Regions from separate parts of the Homo sapiens genome. Here regions 1, 3, 4 and 5 are each linked to region 2. The links are contacts of gene promoters, found by promoter capture Hi-C in human tissues and cell types (Jung and others, 2019). All regions are on one chromosome and are shown on one strand. Each heading gives the region's core, a stretch centred on a gene start or on the middle of the fragment in contact. The rest is flanking DNA. Distances are from core to core; before and after follow the strand shown. Region 1 holds the start of XPO4 (exportin 4). Region 2 holds the start of IFT88 (intraflagellar transport 88). Region 3 overlaps XPO4 (exportin 4). Region 4 has its middle 21 kb from the start of LINC00367. Region 5 overlaps ZMYM2 (zinc finger MYM-type containing 2).

Region 1 (2,700 bases), core at 51-2,550, 340 kb before region 2:
ACCACAGGCGCAAGACACCACACCGGGCTTTTTTTTTTTTTTTTTTTGGTAGAGACAGGGTCTCACGATGTTGCCCAGGCTGGTCTCGAACTCCTGAGCTAAAATGAGGCCTGCCTTGGCCTCCCAAAGTGCTGGGATTACAGGCATGAGCCACAGCGCCTGGCCGACAAAGCTCATCTTACTGCATTTGAGAAGCCAGGTAGTCAAGGTCAGGCTTTCCTGTCCCTGCTTTCTCCCTCTCCTATGTGAGCCAGCCCTTAAAGAGTGAAAACGGCAAGAGCCAAAGACGGGTTTTCCTCCTAGGGTCTCCTAGCGACCCGCTGCCCAGATACATTTGGATGATTGTCCTGCAGAAGGCCAAAGCCCTCCATTATGAAAACGAAGCGTTCGGCCGGGGGCGGTGGCTCACGCCTGTAATCCCAGAACTTTGGGAGACCGAGGCGGGCGGATCACCTGAGGTCAGGAGTTCGAGACCAGCCTGGCCAACATGGTGAAACTTCGTCTCTACTAAAAGTACAAAAATTAGCCGGGCGTGGTGGCGGGCGCCTGTAATCCCAGATACTCAGGAGGCTGAGGCAGGGGAATCGCTTGAACCCGGGAGACGGAGGTTGCAGTGAGCCGAAATAGGGCCATTGCACTCCATCCTGGGCGATAGAGTGAGACCCTGTCTCCAAAAAAAAAAAAAAAGAAAGAAAGAAAACGAAGCGTTCTATCCTGGAATGTTCTCCCATGGCAAGAAGGAACAGAGAAGCAGGAGACAGAGATACTTTGAAAGGAGGTGCGCTCTGAGGAGGGGAAAGCGGGAAGAGCGATTCCAAGTTTAGGAAATCCTGCACGGCGCTGGAGCGTGGAAGGGCAAGGAGGAGCCAGGGGAGGCGGTGTGCAGGGCTGAGAACGGAGGGAGCGAACTGGCGTCGTGGATCTGCGGGTCCCCGGGCGGGCTGTACTAGGGTAGTGGGGAGAGGGCCGGGGGCACCGCGAGGCCGGGGCGCCGGACACCACGCATGCGCGGGGCTGGGAGCTTAGCGGGGCGCGCGGCTGCAGCAGTCTGGGCAGACCGCCTCGGCCTCGCCCGGTGCCGGCTGCGGCCGCCCCCGCCCCAGCGCGGCGGCCGGGCTCACACTAGTCCCCTCCCAGCCACCCGGAACCCGGCAGCCCGGCCAGACCCGCCGAGGCCGCGACGCCGGTGTCGACAGCGGCTGCGACGGCCCTGGGAGCGCGTGAGGCTCCGGGGTCGCGGCGGCGATTGGCCGGCCGCGGCGCCCGCTCCCAGAATGCAGCGCATGGCGCGTCATTGAAGAGAGACCATGATGGCGGCGGCGCTGGGGCCCCCAGAAGTGATCGCTCAGCTGGAGAACGCGGCTAAAGTTCTGATGGTGAGGACGCCGCGCCCCTCAGACCCCGGGATTCGCGGGCCCCCGGTCGGCCCTGCCACTCCAGGCCTTGCTGCTCGCTGGGCTGGCGACTGGCAAGGGCCTGCAGGGAGCCTGGAAGTGGAGGAGGAGGTGGCGGTGGCGTGGCGCAGGATTCTTCAGCCTACTTTCCTCCTGCCGTCGTCCCCTCCTTCCAGGAGCTGTCCCCTTCCCCTGGCTGCCCAGCACCCCAGTCGGGCGTGGGAATATAGTGGTGTAGCAAAGAGAATTTCTTCACCTTACACCCTGCCCCACAGACTGGGTCGCAGAGCAAGGCGCCGGGAAGGAGTTGGGGTTATCCCCGCAGGGCTTCGGTAGGGGAAATTTGTAGGGCTGTGTGAGCGCTCTTGGGGAGTTGGTGTCGGGAGGGATTGGATGGCACAGCCTGGGTGCTGTTAGCAACCCTTGTTTCCTGTGCATTCGCATCCTCTAGCGCTTCCCTGACATGCAGCCACCTCTGGAGTAATTGCAGCCGGCAGCACGTGGAAGGGCCGGGCCGGCTGGAGGGAGGGAGGGGAATCGTTGAGACCAAGGTCATTGGGGCAAAACTTGGTCTAGTGCTAAGCTCCTTAAAGCTCCCGCGATTTGGAGAACTGAGTCTATGCTACTCTTTGACTTCATGCTTACACTACAATAAGCAGTTTGATGAGATTGTTTACTAAGGGAATTTGAGAAGGCCGAGTCAAAGGATAAAAGTATTACATGCAAGGAGGAGAAGTAAGGATAAACTACGTTCAGTTAGTAAACAGTGTTTCTATTTGCTGGCTCAGCTTTGTTTTTGCAAATTATGACTTCGGTGTTTGTAGATGTTTTGGGAAGTTAGAGGTTCATTTGATACCTGGATTGATTCAGACTTTCTAAGAATTGGATACAGCCAGCTTTGTTACCTTTTTGGACTTTTTTCCTTTTGGTTTGGTGTTAGGGTGTTTGAGCATCACATTTGAGAATATTCGAACTAATTCTAGCGTAGTTTGTAGTTCTAATATTTTACACCAGATATTTTTGTTTCTTTAGAAATCGAGAAGTCTAATAAAAGCAGGATTTACTTGCTTCATTATGAATATTAACTTAATGTACGTTTTGTCACAAAACAGACTAGTGAAGGTTTTCACACTTTTGCAAATTAAGCAGAAGTAACTAGCTAGTATTCCCCTTAATAAAAGATTCTTAAAAATCCCTGACATAGAGCGTTTTGTAAAATTCCTGAAATTTTCCTAGGAGCTAGGGGCTCCGTTTTCATTGGATTCTGGAAGGAGTATGCCACCCAAAACACGGCTGTAGTTCTTAC
Region 2 (2,702 bases), core at 55-2,554:
AAGGTTTGACTTGAGACTTTAGTTGAATAGACATCTTGTGGAACATACAAATATTAAAAGATGTGGAAAGTGAGGCCAGGAAAGTTGAAGGGAATCAAGCATGGCTAATAGCTATGGGTGGCAGAACAACTGTTGTTATACAACCCAGGGTTTCTGGATTCTCCAGGCAATTTCCAAAGCAGCTTATACATGTAACAAACTTTTCCATGTTGAAATAATCTGGGGATGATGCCACCTATGTTTAATATAAATCAAATGCTGGCAAAACCTTTTTTTTTTTTAAGTGAAAGGTATGTTTTTTAATACTCTTCTACTGACTATGGACAGTCTACTTCAAGCTTTTCCAACCCCGGCCCGCACGTGGCACAGGACGGCTTTGAATGTGGCCCAACACAAATTCGTAAACTTTCTGGAAGCATTATGAGATTCTTTTTTGCGATTTTTTTTAAAGCTCATCGGCTACCTTAGTGTTTGTGAATTTCATGTGTGGCCCAAGACAATTCTTCTTCCGATGTGGCCCAGGGAAGCCAAAGATTGGACACCCTTGGTCTACTTCCAAGAAGCCTACTGCAGTTTCTCGAAAAAAAAAAAACAAACAAAAAAAACTCACAACCAGAAAATCGGACTAGTAAAAGTGTAATTTTAGGCTTAGAAAGAATCTTGGGACAACAGTACTTCACGTTTTTGGAATGTTTCCATCTTTGTGAGGCTAAGTACCGCTTTCTGCATTGTTGTGTACTTTTATCTTCATTCCTGATTCAACTTTCATCAGGCAATTTGAAGTGCTTCACCTAACAAGAAAATTAAAGAGCGATGTGCACCATCTCTGCTGTGCGATTCCAGAGCTGGCGCAGTAATCTAACTGGGTTTTAAGTTTCCCCGTCAGGCGTGACTGGGACTTGGGACATCGCCAAGCGGTCAGCGACGCCCGTCCCAGTTCAGAGGAGCAAGAAAAGCCTGTGAGCTGGGGACACCGATGTGAGAAACAACGCCCGCGTTTCTGAGTAGACAACTCGGGAGCCTGAGGAAGAAAAGCAGGGGCAGGCCGAGTCCATCTGGGGCCCCGCCTCAGACCGCCCCGGGGCCGACAGGGGCGGGCAGGAGACGGGCGAAGAGGCCCTCGGCGGGATGCGCCACACAGGACGCCGCAGGGGCACGGCTGCCAGGGGCCCTGAGGCACTAGGCCCCAGCGCCCTTCTCCTACCTCACGCTGAGGGAAGCGGGCGACAGTTATTCGGGCCCAGGGACGACGCAGCGGTTGGCCAAAGCGCGACGCCGAGCCGTTGCCAAGCGCGGAATCCAAGGAAGCCGCTCCCACAGTCCTCCGCGCGGGGGCGGGCGGGGCCGGAAGCGCGGGGGCGGGAGAGAGCGCGGCGGGAAGGGGGTGGTGCGGGAGGCCTGGGGAAGTGGGTGGGGGCGGAGAACGGCGGGTCAGAGAGAAGGCAGCCCGGTCCCCCTCAGTGGAAGGGAGTGGCGGTGGGCGGAGGGTGTTGAGGGGACGGTGCCAGCGGCTTGCGGGAAGCCGGGCGATGCGGGTAGAACGGTGGAGGAGAGGGCAGGGAGGCCGGGGCCTCCCGTGGAACGGAACCGGGGGGTTGGGAGGCTGGGGGCGGCCTGTGTGAAGGGGGCGGGGAGGGAAAGGCTCGCGGCCAGTAGATGCAGGAGGGAGGAGGGCCTAGAGGGGCTCCGGGCTGGCGGCCTCTGTGAGGAAGGGGAAGGATATGGAACCAAGATCCTTTAAATCCTGATGAACTCATCCGTAAAGCAGATGCCCAAAGGATGATAGTAAGCTTACTGTGACATAACTCCCGGAGCCGCAGCACGAGCCTTGTGAACCTTGGAAGCCCGTTTTCCGCGCAGTCACTAACTCGCTTAGTCACCCTGTGTAAAAGTTATTCTGGGATGACACCTGCCTGGGAAGTCTCACCTTTCCCCCCACCTCCTCCTGTCTGCGTATTGTTCTGTAGCACCCCGTGCGCACCTTGATTGTAGCGCTTAAGGTGTCCGTTTTATTTACTAGACAGGGATTGAACCATTGTGTCCCAACCACCTAGAACCTGGGTCATAGTGTAAAGCTTAATCAATGTAATATAAATGGGGGAATTAAATTCATAATTGTTTAATGTTTAAGTTTTGTCTTAAATTTTAAAAGTAAATGTTGGGGATGGAGGGGAGGGACAGAGGGAGTCTAAAGACACCAGTAATTAATGAGTTTTTATAAAATAAGTAGTGTTGGCCGGGCGCAGTGGCTCATGCCTATAATCCCAGCACTTTGGGAGGCTGAGGCTGGCGGATCACCTGAGGTGAGGAGTTGGAGACCAGCCTGGCCAACGTGGTGAAACCCTGTCTCTACTAAAAATACAAAAATTAGCCCGGCGAGGTGGCAGGCGCCTGTAATAAATCCCAGCTACTCAGGAGGCTAAGGCAGGAGAATCTCTTGAACCCAGGAGGTAGAGGTTGCAGTGAGCCAAGATGGTGGTATTGCACTCCAGCCTGGGTGACAAGAGCGAAACTCCATCCAAAAAAAGAAAAAACATAGTGTTGGGGGACAATTCTCCATGGGTCACCTGCACTTTCCCGTGTTTTGTGAGCAGAGACACTGACTGCCTTTGTTCTGGAGTACTATGATAGCTGGTATTTTTTAAGATGTGATTAACAGTTAAATTAGACTTGAGTAAAGCAGTTGGTCCTCCACAAGGTGG
Region 3 (2,841 bases), core at 66-2,565, 280 kb before region 2:
TTCTGAACAGAGATGTTGCAGTTGGTGGGTGGGTATGACAGTGTTCAGCTGTTGGATAAGCTTGCATAAATAGTATCATCTTGACTTTAATCTTTCGGTTGTTCAGAGGTAGTGTGCATATTTCTGTTTAACTCCTGGAAAGTTGCCAAAATAATTTGTATCCTCTTTCCATCCTTTGTACCTTGACTGTTTTAGTCTGGGAATAAAATCAATGAGTTGATATTAGGAGCCTGTTGGATAGAACCAATGAGAAGAAAAATCTTCATTTTTCTATTTAAAAAACTTTTGGGTATTACCTGGCTATAATATTTTGGACACTATAAAATCTGTTTCACTTTTCATCTATTTGGGAATGCATTTTACAAACAGAACGGGGTCAAACATGGGTTGAAATCTCAGCTGGCCTTAGATAAGTACTCCAGGTCACTTCTCTCAAATGTAAAATGAGGATATAGGTTGTTCTGCGAATTAAACAAAATAATACCTTCAACATTTATTATTTTTAAATATCATTTGAATTCCACTATTGAGTAGGAACAGTGTGTCCTGAGTTCAAGTCTTAGATGGATTTGTATAACTGCATTTGAGGAAGTACTATTAACACTGACCAGACCACTTAGAAAGGAGAGCTAATATTTATTTTGTCATATCTGATTTTCTGACTAGTTGTTATAAGATCTAAAGATACAGTGGAAGATCTAAAGTTAGGGAGAAAATGTTCTATTATGTTTGAACAAATGCATTGAAACAAAGCGTTGAAACAGTAATGCCTCACAATTATTTCTTATCAAATAATTACAGCAAACTCTGGCCTGTTCTATTCTGACTGCGCTATTGAGTGAATTTTCAAGTTCAAGTAAAACTAGCAACATTGGATTGAGCATGGAATTCCATGGTAACTGCAAAAGAGTTTTTCAGGTATTGGTAGTTTTGTTCTTGAGTTTTAATTATTGGATCATTCACTTTTTACTCAATCTATTCCTAATGACATGAGAATATTTATTTTATGTAGTTGAATGGTAGCCTGTACTTCAGGATTTGTTTTGTGATTTCAAAGGATATAGTAAAATGATAGGTTTGGTGAATGTAGTTGATGGTTTAAAATTACTTGTTTAATTCTAGTCTTAAAAACAATACTTCTATAAAGATCTTTAGTTTATTATTTATTTCTTATTGTGTTTAGATATAACTAATTCAATTGAAGGGACTCTGCTGGCCTTAAAAATAGGTCTGGAAGAATGCCAGAAGGCCGTGTATTTCAAATGTTATTGCAGATGGTGCGGGCTCTTTGTCTTGTATGTATTGTTTGGCTCTGGAGTAAAGTTATGTGAAGGCATTGGCTTAAATCCTAGGGCTCTGCACTATAGCAACTGACTCCTCTGGCTCCGCAGTAGTTGTCAAAGACTCTCTTCTCTATGGAAGTAGCATTTATATTCAAGTAAAAGTATTCCATCTGGCGTCACTTGAAAGCATACTGCGATGTAAATTACAAGTAGAGGCCTAAAAATGGAACACGTTCTTAAGGAAATGGTGTTTTCCATTGGAAATTTTAAGGTGTTTGTTTTGTTTCATGATTCTAAAAGGGGATACATTTTGAATAAATTTTTCATATAAAATATTTGTGATTTATTGACTATAGGAAGAAGACCTTCGTCAGATCTTCATGTTAACTGTTGAAGTTCTGCAGGAGTTCAGCAGGCGGGAAAACCTCAATGCTCAGATGTCTTCAGTATTTCAGCGTTACCTTGCACTCGCCAATCAAGTCTTGAGCTGGAACTTTCTTCCTCCAAATTATATCCTTTTAACAAATGAATAGTTTATCTGTGGTAATTTTCATAGGTGACTTAATTACAGCTCGGAGTCTTTCACCTCTGCAGCTTTCATAAAACATATTGAAAGAAAATAAGATTTTTTTTAAGAAATAGAATTTAATTTCTTTATAATGCCAAAAGACAGTGGATACTAGGATAATACTAGAAGATTTAAAAGTATTTACTCCTTTGTAGAAGAAGTTTGAATACATAGAAACGTGGTGGATGACGGAGCTGTTGCTAATTCAGGATTAGCATTATTCTTTGGGAAGGAAAAGGAAACAGGTAGAAATTACCTTTTAAGAAACCGAATCATTTTTTCCTTGGACAAGTAATTATGTTTGATTTTTTTGACTGACTTAAAGCTAGTTTGGAGTGCTCTAATTTAATCTTTATGGATGGTGATGTTGTTCAAGTATAGGTAATAAGTTAGTAATATGTTTACTCTTCAAGGGCCTTTACCAGTATAAAAAAATGAGAATTTTGTTTTTAGGAAATTATTCAAAAGTTTAAGTGGGTTGTATTATCAATGCATATATCTGCTTTTTAAATTAGTTACTTAAAGTAGAGAAATTTGTATTTCATAAACTTTAAGGAACTGCTGTCTCATTTACTATGCTGGGACATCTGCTGCCCGTTGATAGTAATATACAGTGACTACCCATTTGTTGTGTAAAGTCCAATAGATCTGGATTCAAGGCTCTGCTCATCTTAGGCAAATCACCTGAACCTCTCTGAGTCTCAGCTTTTCCAAATGTAAAATGGGGGTATGGATTGTTGTGTGAATTAAATGAAACAATACATTTAAAACACTCAGGAGTTAGTTACTATTTATTGAGCTCTTAATAGCCTCCGTGAATTAAATAGTTCATTATATAACTAACTGTCTTTTATACTCTTCTTTGTTGAACTAATACGCCTCTGTGTGGTATAGGAAATTTAATGCGACCTGTTCTAGATGTTTTTAATCTGAGAGTCTGTTCAGGAGAAAAAGACTGATGATAAGCAGACAGGAAATAGATGTGAAATC
Region 4 (2,700 bases), core at 62-2,561, 360 kb before region 2:
TCTATGACTTTCCTTCTATGTGAACATTTTTCAGCTTTTAAAATGTCACCATGTTCTAAAGTTGTCTCTACAAAATTAATGTGTTAATTATTTTGAAGCATCCAGTCAGGCAGAAAGGGTAATTATTGTGCTAACTGGAATCTTCTACTCTAAATTTTAGTAGGTCTATGGGTGCGGTGGCTCACGCCTGTAAGCCCATCAATTTGGGAGGTTGAGGTGGGCAGATTGCTTGAGGTCAGGAATTCAAGACCAGCCTGGCCAACATGACGAAATCCTGTACCTGCTAAAAATACAAAAATTAGCTGGGTGTGGTGGTACGCACCTGTAATCCCAGCTACTCAGGAGGCTGAGGCAGGAGAATCACTTGAACCTGGGAGGCAGAGGTTGCCATGAGCCGAGATCATGCCACTGCACTCCAGCCTGGGAGACAGAGTGAAACTCTGTCTCAAAAAAATAAAATACAGGCCAGGCATGGTGGCTCATGCCTGTAATCCCAGGACTTTGGGAGGCCAAGGTGGGCGGATCATCTGAGGTAAGGAGTTCGAGACCAACCTGGCCAACATGGTGAAACCCCATCTCTACTAAATACAAAAAAATTAGCCAGGCATGGTGGTGGGCACCTGTAATCCCAACTACTCGGGAGGCTGAAGCAGGAGAATCGCTTGAACTGGGGAGGCGGAGTTTGCAGTGAGCCGAGATCACGCCACTGCACTCCAGCCTGGGCAACAGAGCCAGATTCTGTCTCAAAAAAATAAAATAAAATAAAATAAAATAAATACATAAGTAAATTTTAGTAGGTCAAATATATTTTTAAAACTTTATAAGTTTAGGCCAGGTGTGGTGGCTCACACCTGTAATCCCAGCACTTTGGGAAGCTGAGGTGGGAGGATCAACTGAGCCCAGGAATTCAAGACCAGCCTGGGCAATGTAGGGAGACCCCATCTCTATAAAAAATATTTTTAAAAATTAACCAGGTGTGGTGGCACACACCTATGGTCCCAGCTACTCAAGAGGCTGAAGTAGGAGGATTGCTTGCACCCAAGAGGTTGAGGCTGCAGTGAACTATGATCGCATCACTGCACTCTATCCTGAGCGACAGAGCGAGACCCTGTCTCAGGGCAGCGCAGGGCAGGGAATCAATCTCACACTTTTACCTCATCATTTATAGATGTAAATGATATTTAGGAAAAATAAAAGAGAAAAATTTCCTTAGCTCATCAAAAAGCCTTATAACGTTTAGTCCTTGGACAATCAGAGATTTCAAGTGCTATAGGAATCAATGTGATTTTTAAATTTTTAATTACATTTTAAATTTAATTAATTTTAAGTAGTTTTTAAATTTAATTAAATTTTAAATATTTTTTAAATTTAAATTTTTAAATTTAATTAAATTTTAAATTTTTCATGTGATTAAAAAAATTTTAACAACAAGTGATTGTTTTTTCAAAGTCTGAAGAAGAAGCTAATGTTATGTGACATTTTCTTGTGTAAGTTTCAATGATGTTTACAATTTGTCTTTGATGATTGTGCTTTATTTCTCCACGTGGGGATCTTGTTCCTTATCTTAGTGAACTGAAAAGAGTTTGAATTGGTATTGTCAAGGCATAGATTTAGTAAACCCCAGCTTCTCAGTTCCAGTAGAGAAAGTGAGCAAATGAGGAACTCAATAACTGGTGCTAAAGATAAAAATAATTTAAAGAAATTTCCCTCAAAACATTATTATTTTAGGCCGGGCATGGTGGCTCATGCCTGCAATCCCAGCACTTTGGGAGGCCAAAGTGTACGGATCACTGGAGCTCAGGAGACCAGCCTGGGCAACATGGTGAAACCCCATCTCTACAAAAAAAAAAAAATACAAAAAATTGGCCAGGTGCGGTGGCTCACGCCTGTAATCCCAGGACCTTGTGAGGCCGAGGTGGGTGGATCACGCAGTCAGGAGATCGAGACCATCCTGGTCAGCACAGTGAAACCCTGTCTTTACTAAAAGTTCAAAAATTAGCCAGGCGCGGTGGCGCACACCCATAGTCCCAGCTACCCAGGAGGCTGAAGCACGAGAATCATATGAACCCAGGAGGCGGATGCTGCAGTGAGTTGAGATCGCACCACTGTACTCCAGCCTGGGTGACAGAGCAAGACTCTTGTCTCAAAAAAAGAAAAAAAAAGTTAGCTGGTCATGGTGGTGCACACCTGTGGTCCCAGCTAGTGGGAAGACTGAGGTGAGGATTGTTTGAGCCCAGGAGGTAGAGGTTGCAGTGAGCCGAGATTGTGCCCCAGCCTGGCAACGAGATTGTACTCCAGCCTGGGCAACAGAGTGAGATCCTGTCTTAAAACAACAACAACCAAGAAAACACACATACATTATTATTTTAATTTTTTTTTTTTTGAGACGGAGTTTCGCTCTTGTTGCCCAGGCTGGAGTGCAATGGCATGATCTCTACTCACTGCAACCTCTGCCTCCCAGGTTCAAGCGATTCTCCTGCTTCAGCCTCCCAAGTAGCTAGGATTGCACCACCATGCCCAGCTAATTTTGTATTTTTTTTAGTAGAGACAGGGTTTCTCCATGTTGGTCAGACTGGTCTCGAACTCCCGACCTTGGGTGGTCCGCCCGCCTCAGTCTCCCAAAGTGCTGGGATTACAGGTGTGAGCCATGCCCAGCCTATTATTCATTTTTTTAAAGAGACACTGTCTTCCTGTCACCTA
Region 5 (2,716 bases), core at 6-2,505, 490 kb after region 2:
ATGATAAAAATGTAACATGTTATACATTTAACTTTATTCTAGTAGCCACATTTTAAAAGTTAAAAAGTATAATATTTTACTTAACCCAATATATCCAAAACATGTAATCCCAACATATAATATAAAAATATTTAACATTTTAAAAATACCAATTCTTTGAAATCTTGTATATATTTTATACTCAGAACACTTCTCATTTCAGACTACCCACATTTCAAAGGCCCTGTTTCTTATGGATAAAAAATGCTTTGTAGGGCAAAGCAGCACGTTGACAGATATCTACTTAAACAGAAATTATGGTACTAGTACTTGAGAAGCAAAATGAAAATCTCATAAAACACAGCTAACAGAGAGTTGAAAAGCATGTATTTTAGATATGTTCAGACTATTGGCATGTTTGTTCAGACAAGTATTGTCACTAATATGACAAACATATGGTCAAATGTTTCGGAGAGCTAGCTAAAGCAAGAAACACTGTGTGCAAACAATATACATAACAATTTATAAAATTAAATATTGGGAATATAAGACATTCATAATTTGAGGGCTATTAGATAGATTCTACTTCTAAGTCTCTCAAATCAGTTGTTTTATTAAACGTTATATGAATAAAGCTTCATTAATAATAATATAAAATAATCCACCATTAATTTAAGCTATCAATCAGTAGTTCTGCACAATAATTTGTGTTTCAATGAAAATATTCCAGCTTTCAGATGCTACGCCCAAGAAAAAAAAAATTTCAAGTATCATCTTTAAAAATACTTAAAACTGGCCAGGTGCAGTGGGGCTCACGTCTGTAATCCCAGCACTGTGGGAGGCCGAGGCGGGTGGATCATGAGGTCAGGAGATCGAGACCATCCTGGCTAACACAGTGAAACCCCGTCTCTACTAAAAATACAAAAAATTAGCCGGGCGTGGTGGCGGGCGCCTGTAGTCCCAGCTATTCGGGAGGCTGAGGCAGGAGAATGGCGTGAACCCAGATCACACCACTGCACTCCAGCCTGGGTGACAGAGCAAGACTCCCTCTCAAAAAAAAAAAAAGAAAAAAACTTAAAACCTTTTCATGTTTCTCCCTGGATAAAGATGAAATCTAAACATTTTATCAAGGAATAGAGGCCTTTGTGGTATGACTCTTACTTACCGCAGCCCTCAGCCTCAATACCCCAAAGCTTTCTCCACTTCACATTATACATTCCAGCCAGGCTAAGTAGTTCCTGGTAAACTGTGCCCTTGTACTGCCATTGTCCCTCTCTCATCCCTTTGCTGAATAAATTTCTATATGTACTTCAAAACTCAATTTAAAATTTAAAACTCAATGTCATCTAAATTCCTATACTTTTTCATTGTATATACTTAGGTAGAATTAATTAGTCCCAATTCTGTGTTACCAAGTCTGTATACAACACGAGCATAACATTATTTAAATATTATTTGTCTGTGTATTTCAACTCTTTCAGTGGAACATATTGTAATGGCTTTTAATTCAAACTGCTCACCAGATTCAAAATTTATGAGCTGTGTAACTTGGGCAAGTAACTTTACTTCCTCATAAAAAAATGCTGATAATTATAGTAAAGTTGTTGAGAGGACTGAATGACACATCAAGCACGTAGCATAGTATGTGGAAAGCAGTAAACAGTCAGTAAATGTAAGTTGTCAACATGCTTATCTCAGTCTCCAAAGCCTACTCCAATGTCCAGTATCCAGCATACAACAGCACTTAATGTTTGCTAAATTAACCAATGAAAGAAGGTTTCAAATAGCCTGAATCAACCTCATCACTGCTATTAAAAAATAAAGAGGCCAGGCGTGGTGGCTCACGCCTGTAATCAAGAGAACGAGACAAACCTGGCCAACACGGTGAAACCCTGTCTCTACTAAAAACACAAAAATTAGCTGGGCATGGTGGCCTGTAGTCCCAGGTACTCGGGAGGCTGAGGCAGGAGAATCACTTGAACCTGGGAGGCGGAGATGCGGTGTGCCGAGATCGCACCACTGCACTCCAGCCTGGGTGACAGAGTGAAACTCCGTCTCAAAAAAAATAAAATAAAATAAAAAATAAATCTTAAATTCCTCTGAATAAGGATTAAATAAGCTTAGAAATCCTCTATGTATTTTAATAGAATTTAATTATTTGAAAACTACCCATTTACATACAAATTAAATTAACAAGCCACACTGTGAGTTTACTATATTTTTTAATTTAGTAAATAAAGTTCTTTCTTCTTAAAAAACACATCCCTCCATATAAAAGACTTAACATGTAGAAAGTAAAAAATAAAAATTCTGGAGAAAAATTTGGAAAAATGACAAAGACTTACTGTCTATAATAAACAAGAAACTCACAAACTAAAAAAGATAAACGATGGGGCAATTCACAGAAAAGCAAATGGTCAATAAACACAAAAAGATCCTCAAACATTTTGGGAAAGAAATCTGTTAATATCTTTAAAAATAAAAAATATACTTTTCTTGAGATCCAATAATACCCCTTCTGGAATCATATCTCAGAAACAAATGCATCAGTTCTTTAGGATAATTATAGAAGATTTGTGTGGGGCAGGAGGGGAGCAGAGGAGGAAGGAAAGTATACACTGTCTATAACAGCAAAATTTCATAAAACAAAGAGAATGCTCATCATTGTGGAAATTACTAAATTAATTGTGATATAGCACACAATGAGATACATACATAGTTAGGCCTGTTCCTGCTG

The links. The method cuts DNA at HindIII sites, captures the fragments that hold promoters and counts their contacts. A contact is called where the count stands out against the background at its distance.
Region 1: the fragment with the promoter of XPO4 here is called in contact with the fragment with the promoter of IFT88 in region 2 in 1 of the 25 tissues and cell types used here (mesenchymal stem cells).
Region 3: a contact is called between a fragment that was not itself captured here and the fragment with the promoter of IFT88 in region 2, in 2 of the 25 tissues and cell types used here (lymphoblastoid cells and spleen).
Region 4: a fragment that was not itself captured here is called in contact with the fragment with the promoter of IFT88 in region 2 in 1 of the 25 tissues and cell types used here (mesenchymal stem cells).
Region 5: a fragment that was not itself captured here is called in contact with the fragment with the promoter of IFT88 in region 2 in 3 of the 25 tissues and cell types used here (hippocampus, mesenchymal stem cells and stomach).

The regions. Positions count from the first base shown.
Region 1 is chr13:20,901,346-20,904,045 of GRCh38, reverse strand. XPO4 (exportin 4) reads left to right here and starts at 1,300. Exons shown (of 23, transcript NM_022459.5): 1 at 1,300-1,376. The coding sequence starts at 1,308. RefSeq lists a silencer at 898-1,277 and an enhancer at 1,488-1,537. The HindIII fragment of the contact is 40,685 bases long and covers 1-2,700 here.
Region 2 is chr13:20,565,759-20,568,460 of GRCh38, reverse strand. It overlaps IFT88 (intraflagellar transport 88), which reads right to left and starts at 1,304. Exons shown (of 26, transcript NM_006531.5): 1 at 1,205-1,304. It overlaps LOC105370103 (a long non-coding RNA gene), which reads left to right and starts at 1,432. Exons shown (of 6, transcript XR_941725.3): 1 at 1,432-1,785. RefSeq lists silencers at 911-1,099, 1,195-1,604. The HindIII fragment of the contact is 1,600 bases long and covers 1,065-2,664 here.
Region 3 is chr13:20,841,847-20,844,687 of GRCh38, reverse strand. It overlaps XPO4 (exportin 4), which reads left to right. Exons shown (of 23, transcript NM_022459.5): 5 at 802-918; 6 at 1,640-1,793. Among named protein-coding and RNA genes, the nearest start is that of XPO4, 59 kb to the left of the region's middle. The HindIII fragment of the contact is 4,157 bases long and covers 1-2,841 here.
Region 4 is chr13:20,926,718-20,929,417 of GRCh38, reverse strand. No RefSeq gene overlaps it. Among named protein-coding and RNA genes, the nearest start is that of LINC00367, 21 kb to the left of the region's middle. The HindIII fragment of the contact is 5,494 bases long and covers 1-2,700 here.
Region 5 is chr13:20,076,176-20,078,891 of GRCh38, reverse strand. The region is part of intron 21 of ZMYM2 (zinc finger MYM-type containing 2); the gene reads right to left. Among named protein-coding and RNA genes, the nearest start is that of LINC01072, 25 kb to the left of the region's middle. The HindIII fragment of the contact is 4,922 bases long and covers 1-2,716 here.